Linked DNA regions of Homo sapiens: all the other regions are linked to region 3. Evidence: promoter capture Hi-C in human tissues and cell types (Jung and others, 2019). All regions are on one chromosome and are shown on one strand. Each heading gives the region's core, a stretch centred on a gene start or on the middle of the fragment in contact. The rest is flanking DNA. Distances are from core to core; before and after follow the strand shown.

The links. The method cuts DNA at HindIII sites, captures the fragments that hold promoters and counts their contacts. A contact is called where the count stands out against the background at its distance.
Region 1: a fragment that was not itself captured here is called in contact with the fragment with the promoter of CIDEA in region 3 in 6 of the 25 tissues and cell types used here (H1 embryonic stem cells, liver, lymphoblastoid cells and 3 more).
Region 2: a fragment that was not itself captured here is called in contact with the fragment with the promoter of CIDEA in region 3 in 4 of the 25 tissues and cell types used here (bladder, lymphoblastoid cells, mesenchymal stem cells and 1 more).

Annotation. Positions count from the first base shown.
Region 1 is chr18:12,098,387-12,102,877 of GRCh38, reverse strand. ANKRD62 (ankyrin repeat domain 62) reads right to left here. Exons shown (of 14, transcript NM_001277333.2): 6 at 3,196-3,263. It also overlaps the pseudogene RNU6-324P and the pseudogene SDHDP1. Among named protein-coding and RNA genes, the nearest start is that of ANKRD62, 6.8 kb to the right of the region's middle. RefSeq lists an enhancer at 4,348-4,491. The HindIII fragment of the contact is 3,311 bases long and covers 646-3,956 here.
Region 2 is chr18:12,014,519-12,019,010 of GRCh38, reverse strand. The region is part of intron 5 of IMPA2 (inositol monophosphatase 2); the gene reads right to left. Among named protein-coding and RNA genes, the nearest start is that of IMPA2, 35 kb to the right of the region's middle. The HindIII fragment of the contact is 5,071 bases long and covers 594-4,492 here.
Region 3 is chr18:12,251,245-12,255,869 of GRCh38, reverse strand. CIDEA (cell death inducing DFFA like effector a) reads right to left here and starts at 1,509. Exons shown (of 5, transcript NM_001279.4): 1 at 1,449-1,509. The coding sequence starts at 1,486. LOC105371996 (a long non-coding RNA gene) reads right to left here and starts at 857. Exons shown (of 2, transcript XR_935158.3): 1 at 439-857; 2 at 1-291. RefSeq lists an enhancer at 1,767-2,373. The HindIII fragment of the contact is 10,266 bases long and covers 153-4,625 here.

The DNA of each region.
Region 1 (4,491 bases), core at 1,052-3,551, 150 kb after region 3:
GAACAAAACCATCAGAAAAACAAAATTTGAAAATCCAGTATTAACAGATAAACTAACACTACATATTGTTCTTTACTTCCTAATATTACCTTTATAATAACACACTAAACCTGCTTCTTATTATGAGTAACTTCCAATATGACTGTTACTGCTTATACCTTCATCCATATACACCCCGTTCATTATATCTGAAATGTCTTCCTCTACTATTCTGACAAATTTCATTTTTCAACAGCTGTGTAAACTCTTCTCTGATTCTGGCTCTTTCCCCAGACAAACAGTTTTATATAATACAGGTTTCATAAAACATGCAGTTAAGGTTTCAAAAGCGAGTTTATGTTTTAACCGACTATAACTAAAATACAAAGTGGGGGTTGGTGGATGACCTTGAGTTTTCAGGAATGAGATGGCGGTTCTCTGGAGACTGAGTACCCTTCGCGGTGCCCAAGGAGGCTGAGCTCTGTTGCTGCGAACCCCAGTGGTCACACCTGCTCCTATCTCAGCATTACTTCAGAACCGACCTACCCCCGAATGGTGTGGAGTGAGTACATTGGCTTGTCACCAAGCCACCATTCTGGTTCCCAGGTTGCGTCTCTCCACTGGACTAGTGAGAGGGTCGTCAGTGTTTTGCTCCTGGGCCTGCTTCCAGCTGCTTATTTGAATCCTTGGCTCTGTGACGGACTCTACTCCTTGCTGCAACCCTCACTCTTCATAGTTACTCGGGCCTTGGACAAGTTGTTACTGACTATGTTCATGGGGATGCCTTGCAGAAAGCTCCCAAGGCAGAGCTTCTGGCACTTTCAGCTTTAACCTTTGCTGGGCTTTGCTATTTCAACTACCATGATGTGGGCATCTGCAAAGCTGTTGCCACGCTGTGGAAGCTCTGACCTTTCTGACTTAATACTTTGAAGAACTGATGTATGCCTCTTTGCCTCTGCTTTGTCATGCCATTCAACTCACAATAAGGAAGAAATAACAGGGTAAGTCCATTGGTGGACAGCCTTCTTCTCTTAATCACAAGATTGTTTTCCAAATTTAATATTTGAGGAAAAGGTTTGAGAGGAATTACGACTAAGAAATTGTGAGACTGAGTTTTGTATTGCGGTGAGTTAATGGGGTTGCCTCCCAGCTTCTCATAAGAGTCACAGTATAACTAAACATGATACGAGCTTTTGCCTTTTATCAATCTCTTAAAGAGAATCCAGCTTTATTACTATTAATATATGATCAAATTTCTGTTTTTGCCCTGGGAATGATGGACAAAGGGAAATACTGTTAATTCATGAATAAAAACATCGCAGAAAATTAGAGAGTGTTCAGTTTTTGAAAACTTCCCTCTCTATTCAGTAGATACCACCTACTGATGGTTACATATACTGGGGAAATTTTAAAATTAGGAAATGCTGATATCTCACATTATGAATTTCTAAATCTTAGGAAGAAAAGCTTGGAGTGCTTCTGAATATAGAGAAGTTCCATTTAAGGGCAAGGTTCCCCTTGTAGACATATCAAAATATTACAAATTCTAAACTGAGACTCAAGTCTCAAATGTGTTTTACTTGTTCTGAAACAATCTGTCCATGAATATGAAACTATAAGTAATACATTGCTATTTTCCCACTATGGGAATCTCTAATGTGAAAATGTATTCTATGAATTGTTTTTAAATAAAATGTTGTATAATTAAAAAAAAGAAAAGTACACACATTCCAAAATGAACCTAATGGCTTGCAAAAAAAAAGTGTTTTTCAGTTAAGAATAGCAAATCATGATCCTGAGAGGATAAATGTCAAAGCTTATGGGAGAGTGCTGTGGCATATTTTTAATGCAACACATCATACTTAATTATACCATTATCCTACATGTATTTTTAAGTTGTGGGGCTGTGTGGCACAGCATGTGTCCTACTTCAAAGAGGCAGCCCCCGGTCTGTTCTGGTAATGGTTGCTGTACTTTTACTATAATGTGCTGAGCCTAGAGTTGGGCTATTCGAATATTATTATAATAATATTTTAGCTAATGGTAACAGAGTGTCTTCTTCTAACAAAATTGATATTATCATGACAATTAACTAGCAGATAGAACAAATCTCACCCTAACGAAGTAAATATATCTCATTTTATTTCCACTTGGGGGGAATTAAGTCAATACTAGTGAGACATTCTTGGTATGAGAATATGTAACACGGCCTGTGCTTCTCAATAAGGAATTTATTTTCTGACTTCTCTACACAGTAGGTATCTTTAAAAAATAACATCCTATTGGTATTGGTACAGTTCTTATTGATGTTTGTTCATGGTACCAGAAAGGTCTCATTGAAATTCTTATTTTAAAGACAGTTACTTTTTAAGTGACACAAATCACCATGTCAGAGTTAATCTCTGAACAACACAGGTTTGAACTGCAAGGGCCCGCTCATCTGCAGACTTTCTTCTGCCTCTGCCACCTGAGATGGCAAGATCAATCTCCCTCTACCTCCTACTCCTCCTCAGCCTAGCCAACTTGAAGACTCTGAGGATGAAGAGCTTTATGATGATCCACTTTCCACTGAATAAAAATATATTCTTTCTTCATTATGAATTTCTTTATAAGTTTCTTCTTCTCTAGTTTACTTTATTGTAGTAACAATACAGTATATAATACATATAACTAATATGTCTTAATTAACTGTATAATCAATAAGGTTTCTAGTCAACAATAAGTCATGAGTAGTTAAGTTTTAGGGGGGAGTCCAGAGTTATATACAGATTTCAAACTGAATGGGGGACTGGTACCCCTAAATCCCACACTACTCAAGGCTCAGCTGTAATATGTATTTACTAAATGCAAAGCATTTGTTTTATAAATTAAAATATCCAATGTTATAACAAATCCAATTCATCATAAGGTGACTATAAAGAAAACATACCACATACTAACTTAATCTTTTTTCTTATTTACACAAAAATATCATCTAGAATTTCAGAAACTACGATAATGAGTTTTTTTCAGATAATACTGCTTGAGATTATAACTTGCCTACAAGTAACTTTTTAAATAATTCTGAAATCTAGATTACTAAGAAAGTAATTAAAAAATATACATTCAATTTACAGTGGTTTTTTTAAACTGCTGTTTTGTGATCAAAACTTCCTTCCTCTTACTTTTTTATCTATGACAGGACCATCGAGAGGAATTCACTATCAGAAGTCATACCTGAATTGCTATTTTGAAGACTTTTACATCTCTTGTTTGCTTTATATTCAGAAATCATTCCACGAATGCTATGTATCAAAATGCAGTAAATACAATTACTATTTTAATACTGATATGAAAAACTTTACCAAATACATTAAATTCTTAAGAGTATATCAAACAATATCAGAACTTTAATTATACACTTTTAGTTTGTAAGCTCTACAAAACTCTTATTAAGCTTCTAATTAAAGAAGAAAAAAGTATGAAGTGAGGACAGTATAACTCAGTAAATTAACTCATGTGAAGTTGACATAATGGAAAATGATCTGACTCATAATAGGACCAATGGGTATTTGTTCTTGAACAAGTCTCTTCTCTTAGGCTCAATGTCTTCTTCTAAAGAATGAAGGTTTTACTACCTTATTCACTAGGTTATTATAAATGTTTAATGAAACCACATTTTAAGGTGCTCAGAGAAATAGTAAAGCAATGGAATAATTTGTTCTTGAACTTTTTTGCTGAAATTATTTTGGAATCCCAAATGAAACCCAATGTGTATTTTCACATATGTTCTAATATTAAAATGTTATGATCTTTTGAAAATGTTGTTAAGTCCTAATTTTGCTTGTTACTTGTTCTATTATTTGTAGCTTATGATTCAGGACATCTCAACTATTTCACAGTTTGTAACTAAATTGATAAATAGATTGTCTCATTAAAATAGATAACATGATTATCCATTGTTACTTATGTCATCAATCACACCAAAGGCAGAAAGCTAACAGATGTCAAGACCTGGCTTGGACTACTACTATTTTTCCTCTATAGACTCTAACTCTGAACTGGCAGATCTTTGTTAGAATGATGCTTCCTCTCCATGGTCATCCCCAACTGACATGGAAGACAAAAACCCTCATATTTTTGAAGGGTCATGAAGGAGATGCAAGTGGTTATTTTTTCATTTCTGAGATACATACTAACAATATATTTGCACACAACACACCACGAGTTTACTCAGCGCCATTCTCATTTCATAGATACCTTACTCCAATGTTTTTGTAATGAAAATGTGTAATTTCATTATTGGCTAGCACCTGTTTTGCTTTGACTCACACTGTTTTCCGGGAACTTGTCAGCAAACTAGTCAAATGGCCTTCTTGTAACTGTGTAAAATATGGACTGCTTCACAGATTAGTGTGACATGCTTATGCAGGGGCCATGCTAATTTTCTCTGTATTGGTCCAACTTTAGCATATGTGCCGCGAAGCAAGCACAAAGCTCTACTTTTATAAATGGATGCTGATCAGTCATGGA
Region 2 (4,492 bases), core at 1,880-4,379, 240 kb after region 3:
CTACAAAAATATTTTTTAAATTATCCGGGCATGGTGGTGAGCACCTGTAGTCCTAGCTACTTGGGAGGCTGAGGTGGGAGGATCATTCGGGCCCTGGAGTTGGGGCTGCATTGAGCTACGATCACACCATTGCACTCCAGTGTGGTCAACAGAACAAGACTGTCTCTAAAAAATAATAATAATAATAAAAGACACCAAAACAACTTATTATAACAGATTGAATGCAGAAGCAGATATGAGAATCTAGTTGTCTTACATTAAGCCAGACATAAAGAAATTTGGAAAAAATGTAAAACTATCCCACTCTCCTCACTAAAGCTTTCTTATTTTGGAAAATATGATTAGTTCCCATAAAAATATATTATTCACGTTAAAATGTAATGAATTTTTAATCTTAAAATGAATTAATAAATGTTTTAAAGGCCTTCAGTAATTTTTTTAGGAGTATGAATGGGTTTGTCCTAAGATCAAAAAGCTTTAAAAATGCTATACTAGAGAATGTACTTCACACAACCAGAATGACTGGAGAAGCATCAGCACACAGGACAGTGGTGGCGTTAAATCTGTACCCACCTGTGGAACCATGACTGAATGATGGCTTTGAGGTGAGAGCGTGGCACACAGTGGCTGGGTGCTATCCCAATGAGGATGCAGCACAACCATCCAGAGGTGGACAGGTGACAGAGAGAGGACATGACCCATAGAACAAGCTTGTCAACTGTTACTGAGAGCAAAGGTTATCTTTTTATTTTTTTAAGAGATGGGGTTGAGGCCGGGTGTGGTGGCTCATGCCTGTAATCCCAATACTTTGGGAGGCCCGGGCGGGTGGATCACCTGAGGTCAGGAGTTCAAGACCAGCCTGGCCAACATGACAAAACCCTGTCTCCACTAAAAATACAAAAATTAGCTGGGCATGGTGGCATGCGCCTGTAATCCCAGCTACTTGGGAGGCTTAGGAGGAAAATCACTTGAACCAGGGAGGCGGAGGTTGCAGTGAGCCGAGATCGCCCCATTGCACTCCAGCCTGGGCAACAAGAGTGAAACTCCATCTCAGAAAAAAAAAAACAGAAAAAAAAAAACCCAGTATAACTCATTATCGACTCTATATTTTAAAAATATGGTCAGGTGCAGTGGCTCACAACTGTAACCCCAGCACTTTCGGAGGCCGAGGCAAAAGGCTCACTTGAGGTCAGCAGTTTGAGACCAGCCTGGCCAACATGGTGAAACCCCGTCTCTACTAAAAAATACAAAAAAATTAGCCAGATGTGGTGGCGCATGCCTGTAGTCCCAGCTACTCAGGAGGATGAGGCAGGAGAATTGCTTGAACCTAGGATGTGGAGGCTGCAGTGAGCCAAGACTGCACCACCGCACTCCAGCCTGGGTGACAGAGTGAGATCCTGTTTCAAAAAACAAAACAAAACAAATAAAAAATACGTACTTCCTAGCACAGTCCAGTGAAAAGGCAACAAAGACTGACCCAGGAACAGGAAGTCCCCCCAGAACGCAGACTATGACCTTAGGAGGCCACTTTCCATAAAAACGAGACAATTGGAAATTTGAACACTGATGGGATTATTTGCTGATTTTAGGGATGCATTTTGGGTAGAGAGTGATATTGATGATGTGATTGTATTTGTAAGAGAGCAGTCTGTTTTTGGAGACACGCTGAAGTACTGACTAGGAAGTGACCTGATGCCTGGGATTGGCTCCAGGCAGCTGGGGGTGGCGGGAGCTGGTGGACACACACGAAGCAGGCGTGCTGCCATGTGAGGGGTCATGGGGCATCATTTTGCTTTTTCTGTGTACTTTGTGTATGTCTGAAATTTGCATGGTAGAATTTGAAGAAGCAGCTAATAAAATTCTTGCCTTCTTCTAATCCTTTACCTCTATCCAGTGCTGTTTTTTAACTTGTGAGTTGAAGATATTCCAGCAAGGCATAATAGAAATAAGAAAGGGGAAGCCAAGGGAAGCAGAAAGAGAGAGGGAGAAAGAGAGAGAGATTAGTGGTGCTTGTTTTAATGACTGTGTCCTCCAGAAACAAGTCCTAATTTTAACAACGGGGCATGACTTGATTGGTTTTGTGCAAAGATTCAAGTTTCTTCTTTGATAATGGTTCTCATTTTAGGATACTGTGCCCCAGGCACTATGCTGGGTGCTTTATATGCGTAACTTATTTAATCCTCTCGGTTATTTTTATTATCATCAGCATCCCCGTTTTCAATATGAGGACTGAGATTCAGAGAGGTTAAGGAACTTGCTCGAGTTCTAGTCACCTTAGAAAGTGGCAGAATCGGCCAGGTGTGGTGGCTCACACCTGTAAGCCCAACACTCTGGGAGGCCGAGGCGGGTGGATCACTTGAGGTCAGGAGTTTGAGACCAGCCTGGCCAACATGGTGAAACCCCGTCTCTACTAAAAATACAAAATTAGTCAGGTGTGGTGGTGCGCACCTGTAATCCCAGCTGCTTGGGAGGCAGAAGAATCACTTGAACCCAGGAGGTGGAGGTTGCAGTGAGCCAAGATTGTGCCACTGCACTCCAGCCTGGGTGACAGAGCAAGACTCCATCTCAGAAAAAAAAAAAAAAAAGCGGCAGAATCAGGATCTGAAATTGGGTCTGCATGGTGCCAAGAGACCGTGCTGCTGAAGAGCATGCACTGTCACCTCCTGAAGTCCATCTACCCATAGGAAAGAAAACAACCATGGTAGAAAACACGTGGAACCGCCTGTCCTGAATGGGCCAGTTTAGGTTTTCACTGATTCTTTTTGGCCTTTCTCCCATATGGAGGAATTTGGTGATATTTTATAGCATTGTGAGACAGGTACTGTAGGGAACAGAAGAATACCAGACAAATGAGAGAAGCCTCAGACTAGCAGCAGCTATCTGCTATGCATTTTATCCATCAGAATTTTTCTAAAGTCACAAATGAGTTTCAGAACATGAGCACTTCATGTTTCCTTCATTCTACGAAATTACCAGGCCTACTGGGGGCCACATAAAGGGGCCCTGGACAAAGCCCTTGCCCTAGTGGAGTTGGTGCTTGAGCTAGCAGCCTGCAGGCTGGGAGGACGCAGAGTTGCAGCCTGACTGAGCTACACGGGCGGGCAGCCAGGATGCCAAGAGCATGTTAATAGAGTTCAGTGTTATAATCCAGTGAAATATAGAGCAAAGTTCACCCGAGCATGCTTAGTAGCATGCTTCCTCACCACCAGTTACACAATGAGGCTGGAGTGGGCACCTCCTGGCACGCACAGCTGTAATTAAAGCTACTTTTTTCACTGCCAAACAAAACACTTCTGGAGAGGGAAGGTGAGGCAGGGCCAGAGGCCATTCCAAGGCCTCTCTGGGATCAGAAGCTCTAACTGGTGAGTCCAACTGCTGGTTGCCCCTCAGAGGCCCCCATGACTTCTCCCTTCCCCTGCTCTGGGCTCTCCTGCAGCCACCTCCTCTCCTTTGCACAATCTTGCCCTTCGTGTCCCTCACACAGTGGCGGGCCCTCTCCTGACACCTCATCCATCCTGGCCCGCCACTTTCCTGGCCGCACGGGCTCACAGCAGCAGAGATGGGCCATGGCCATAGCTCCTCTCGCTGCCTCGAAGGCCATCTGGGCACACAGGCATCAGCCAGGGAGGAAAGAAGTAGGAATAAATAGAGACAATGAAGAAAGGTTGCCAGGAAAGGAATTTTTAAGAGAGGCTGGAAGTGGGTCAAGAGGGGAGGCGGCAGGGAGGCTGATGGGAGAGCAGAAGAAAGAGTGTAACTGGCAGGGAATGAGATGGGGGGCCCTGCATGATGTCCACGCCAGAGACACACAAGGCAGAAACAAGCAGCAGTGCACTTCCGCCTTTTCAAACCCAGACATGCAGGTATTATGGAGCTTGTAAAATCTCCCATGCAGCTGCTGCTAGTCTGAGGCTTCTCTCATTTGTCTGGCATTCTTCTGTTCCCTACAGTACCTGTCTCACAATGCAGTTAAAATATCACCAGATTCATCCATGTGGGAGAAAGGCCGAAAAGAATCAGTGAAAACCTAAACTGGCCCATTCAGGACAGGCGGTTCCAGGCAGTATGCAGGGAATGGGAACCCCTCTCTCAGAGCCACTGGATGACCCTGAGATTCTGGGCTAAGGAAATCACGGCAGGCCATAACTGCAGAGGGGCTAAGGTGCCTCTTCACATGACTCATTCCCCAGGATGGCTCTTCTCACAGAAGCTGAAGCCAGTTACTGTTGTGCACACTCAGGGGCCACAGACTGCACCTGGGCAGCAGTGCCTGGGCAAAATCGGGACCACCGAGGTGTGCCGGGTGCTCTGAGGGGAACAAGCACCTGGCCTCGGGCTGCTCACCCAATCCCACTACAACCAAATCGTGACTGCGACTGGAGTACTTTTAGCCTGAAAGATGAGGGATGTGAGCGCAAAGCAGAATGAGGTTATTTAAAGCTCCTGGCCACGTGAACAAAAACACTAACATACAGAACTGGCTCCATTTCCA
Region 3 (4,625 bases), core at 260-2,759:
CAGCTCATAAGCAAGTCACTTCCACTTCACACGACCTCACAGAGACCCCACACAGATGCATTTTGGATTTTGGTGAGCTGTTATAATAGTCAGAGGCAGGGACAGGCTCAGCCTGAATCCTGCTCAGAGGCCAACCAGGATTGGTTAGTGCGAGTCAGCCCACACCTCCTTCCCCCATGCTCCGGAGGAACAGTGGGTGTGTTGTGAATTCACTGGAAAAGTGGTTGGAAGGACGCATTCCAAACTGCTAAGACCTCCCCTCCTGGAAGTGGGACTGTGGTGTGGATGGTTCTGGAAGAACGCAAAAGATACAGGGCCCTGACCTTTAGGCCTAAGCGTGTTAATGACCATACACGAAGCAGGTGTTTCTCAGCGTCCCCCTGCCACCGCCCCGACTTGTACTGTGGGCTTATTTTTAAAGAGAAAGATGCTTCTAACCTGCAGTGTCTACAACAGCTCCCATTTAAGAACCCGGGATTGGAAGCTCATAGATTGCGTTTCGTAGCCGGACCGCTCCCTTTCACACATGTAGTCTCTCTGCCCGCCACACGTAGCACACACAGTGGGACCCGGCGCCGCTGAACGCCTGCACCTTCAAGCCCGCAAATGGTTCTCTATCCTTTTCCAGGTACTTGATCTTCAGAGAAACACGATCTCCCTCTTAGACCTTACTTTACAGTTGCTGCCACGCAATGACTTAGGATTTTACCAAGAATTGGCTTGGGTCTGTTGGGATATGAATATTAACCCAAGCAGGAAAATAGCCAATGCTGCCTGTTCGACCACGAGCGGGTGCGAAGCGCAGGGAAGACTCCTCAGGGTCCACCCGCCCCTTGTCCCCCCTGCTCCCCAGGCAGCGTCTCCGCCCTTGGACCCGGAGGCAAGGAGGAGCGCTTCTCCCAGCACCACCAACCTGGAGGGCTCCGCCGGACGGTTGGGGCCTCCCCTCGGAGACCAGAGCCCGCGCTTCCAGGAGGGGCCAAGCCTGGGCCCCTCCCGCGCCCAGCTCCCGTTGTGATTTCCAGGACCCCCAGAAGCCCGGTCCCCTCGCATCGCGGAAGCTTTGCTCGGGGTTCCTGGGACCGGACCCTCTTCTGCGCCCGCGACTGCAGCAGCGGCCAGAGATGCATGCAGCCACTCGCCAGCTGTCACCTGGTTTGCAGACGCCCGCGCACCTCGCAAGAGCCACACCTGGTACCTGTGCCCAGCTGCAAGAGGGTGAGGAGGCGCGGGACGGGATTGGGCTCTGCCCGCGGGCGCGGCTGGACGGCTTGGGCACCAGTGGGGCGGATGGGTGTGTGCGCGGGGTCGCGGAGCGCAAGAGAATGCGGGGAGCAGGGGGCTGAAGGGAGCGGGGTACGGTACTAGAGGCGCACAGGGGAATATGAGGCCACCGAACGCAAGGCGATTGGAAGCGCACGGCAATCAGGGGGACGCGGGGCACTCGCCTGATGAGGGCTCCTGCATAGTCCCGGGCGGCCTCCATGGCGCGGATCCCCTAGCGGGCCTGGAGGTCTGTCTGCCTGCACAGCCTCTTAAAGTGCGGCGGCCCCGCCCCCGCCCGCCTGCCAGCCCCGCGAAGGCCTGACTGGCGCAGGGGAGGACGTTTTGGCACGAGCTCTCCACCGCCGAGGATCGCGACTTCGCGCTCTGGGAGCCCCCGGTCGTCCTGGCTCCCGCAGCCTGGAGCCGCGCGTCCTTCGCTGCCTTGGGCCGTACCGAGGACCTTGGAAGCCCAGATGCTCCCCGGGTCTCTTTTGGTCACTTGCCAGCCTGTTCGTTTTGCACTTCTGGGGGTCGGGGCAGTTGGGGTCATAACCAATCCTGGCAGCATCACTTTGGCCGCGGAAAGACGGGTATGTGGATTTTAAACCCAGGCCACGGGTGGGGCAGGTGAGGAGACGGATGTGAGCGCCACTTGCCTCCAGCTCTGGAGTCCCCCAGAGCCCAGCCCCAGGCTCAGCGAGCCGCTGGTTCCCTGCAGGGATGCGGAAGCTGCCGCAGACACCGGGACCTGCAGCCCTTCAGGTTCTCCGAGGCGCCTGGGCTTCCTGCCCGCTGCGCTGCTCTCAAGGCCATGTCATGAGCATTTGGGGACAGTGAGAAGGGCATGCAGAACGGGAGGGGAAAGGAGCCTTTGGACTGCATGAATTGCCTTTTAGCTGTAGTAAGGGACCCTCGCAGAGTGAGGAGGCAAAGAGTGAACCCCGCTGGGGCTGGGGGACTTCCGTCCACACCCTGCTCTCATGGTTGTTCCCATCGGAAGACGCAATTAGGGCCTCTGAGACCTCCGAGGAAGGCGGGCAGTTACAAGGGGTTCCCAGAACCCCTCACTACAGGACTGAAGAGGTGGGCTCAGTGTTGAGGGGTGGGACTCGGGCAGTAAGAGGTGTAACTTTCTGGGATGGAGGCTTGCTAGGATATCCTCTCGTGCCCAACTGCTGACTGCCGCCTGGAAACAGCGTTTCGGGAGCTGCAGCGGGACCCTCGCCGGCTCCTCCTGAGCCCACCTGGTTTGAGCAGACTGACCTGATCTCTTAAGACCTGACCCTATGCCCGCCCTCTTCCTCCGCTGGCTCTCAGAAAGGGTCACCGTGGTCAACAAGCCTTGTGACTTGCAGGACTGTTGAAGCCAAAGGCAATTGCCTTCCAGAGTCAAGGACTCCGCCTGCTGGGAACACCCAGCTCCAGGCTCACAGGGGGCAGCTTCCCCCAGAGGCACTGAGCGGACACAGCTTTAGGAGGTCATTCACTGCCCCTCCCACTCACAGCCCCAATGTGATGGATGAGAAAATGGGTCCAATCAATTCAGGTCAACTTACCTCTAACCTTTTTATTGTGAAAAAGTTCAAATATAGAGATACATAGAAAGAACAGGGCTGAGGGTACTGGCTTACATCTGTAATCCCAGTACTTTGGGAGGCCAAAACAGGAGGATGGCTTGAAGCCAGGAATTTGAGACCAGCCTGGGTAACACTGTGAGACTACTATCTCTACACAAAAATAACGATAATTAGCCAAGCATGACGGCGAGCACCTGTAGTGCTAGCTACTCAGGAGGCTGAGGAGGGAGGATCACCTGAGCCCAGGAGTTTGAGGTTGCAGTGAGCTGTGATCATGTCACTGCACTCCAATATGGGCAACAGAGTGAGACTTTCTCTCTAAAGAAAGAAAAAAATCTGTTTGTGTGTATATATCTATCTATCTATATATAAGATAGATAGATAGATAGATAGATAGATAGATAGATAGATAGATAAGAGAGAACAGTACAATGAGCACACTTACACCCAGCCCCTGGATTCAACCACTGTTAACATTTTGACATATTTCTTTGTTCTTTATATTTGAATTTGAACCCTTCCAAATTAAATCCTTTAGCTTGCATCTCTGGAGAAACAAGGACATGATCTCATACATAACCATAGTGACATTATCACTTCTAACAAAATAAAAATAAAGACCTGGGCACTGAGTGTGGACATGGGGGTGGGGTGGGGACTAGCAAACATTTCCAGGCCATGGCGATGGCAGAAGGGACCCAGCAGGAGATCACCCTGGGGTTTTGAGCTTGGGAGACTGGAGAGATGAGGAATCCTGGACGGGAGCAAGTCTGTGGTGGAAGCGGAGATGGTGGTGAGACCAGGCCCTGGGGACCCCTTGGTCACGGAGGCAGCATAGCCCTGGTGTGCATTGGTTCTCATGCAGATCTTCAGGCTGGGAGTAAAAGTCGGTCACTGCCCTGCTGCTGAGTGGGAATCCTGGAGTGCTGCGCTAGGAGGGTGGTGGGGAGAGGTGGGAGAGGGCAGAGGGCAGACTGAGCTCCAGGGGACTTGGCTGCAAACCCAACAGATGATGGAGAAGACAACAGTGCGAGTCATGCCCAGCCTTCCAGCATATTCTCGTCTCCAGCACACAAATTCATTCCACTCTCACTCGACAGGTTTCATTCATCCATGTTCAACAACTACTCTGTGCCCGGGCAACCAGGATTGGGAACCCAGCTTTTTAGTTCAATTCACCAAATGTTTGTTGTCACAGAGCCTGTGCAGCTGTGAACAGTGGGCTCCACCTGACACCCACACCCTCAGGGAGGGACCTCAGCATTGCCTTCCCTCGGCTCCCAGCAGTATCTGTGGGGTGATGCCACAGTGGGCTCTGCTCTTTCTCCAAAGTATGGATGCCTCCCCACTCCCCGAGTCTCAGCATGTGCTGGGCACAGCCCATGCTCTGGAGTGCAGAGACCTAGGTTCCTAGCCTGGTTTTGCCTCCTCTAGCTGGGTGACCTTGGGCCAGTCACATAACTACCCCAAGCCTCAGATCTTCATCTGTCACAGGGCAGCGGCCTGTCTGTCTCACAGGGTGTGTGAGACTCAAATGCCATGAGGGAAGGGCCGGCCTGGTCAGCTCCAGCAGCGTGAGTGGGACTGACCACGACAGCAATGAACGGCTCCACTCCCTACTCCTAGCCAAGAGCGCGTGCCTGAAACAGAAATTGATTCCCACTTACCGCAATACGTTATAAACATCGGTGCTTAGGGTTCAAAGAAACTCCAGTTTCTAATCCAATTTCTGTTTTTGTTTTTTTTTGGTGGAGGAAACAATCATCCCTGAACTTTGGCCTT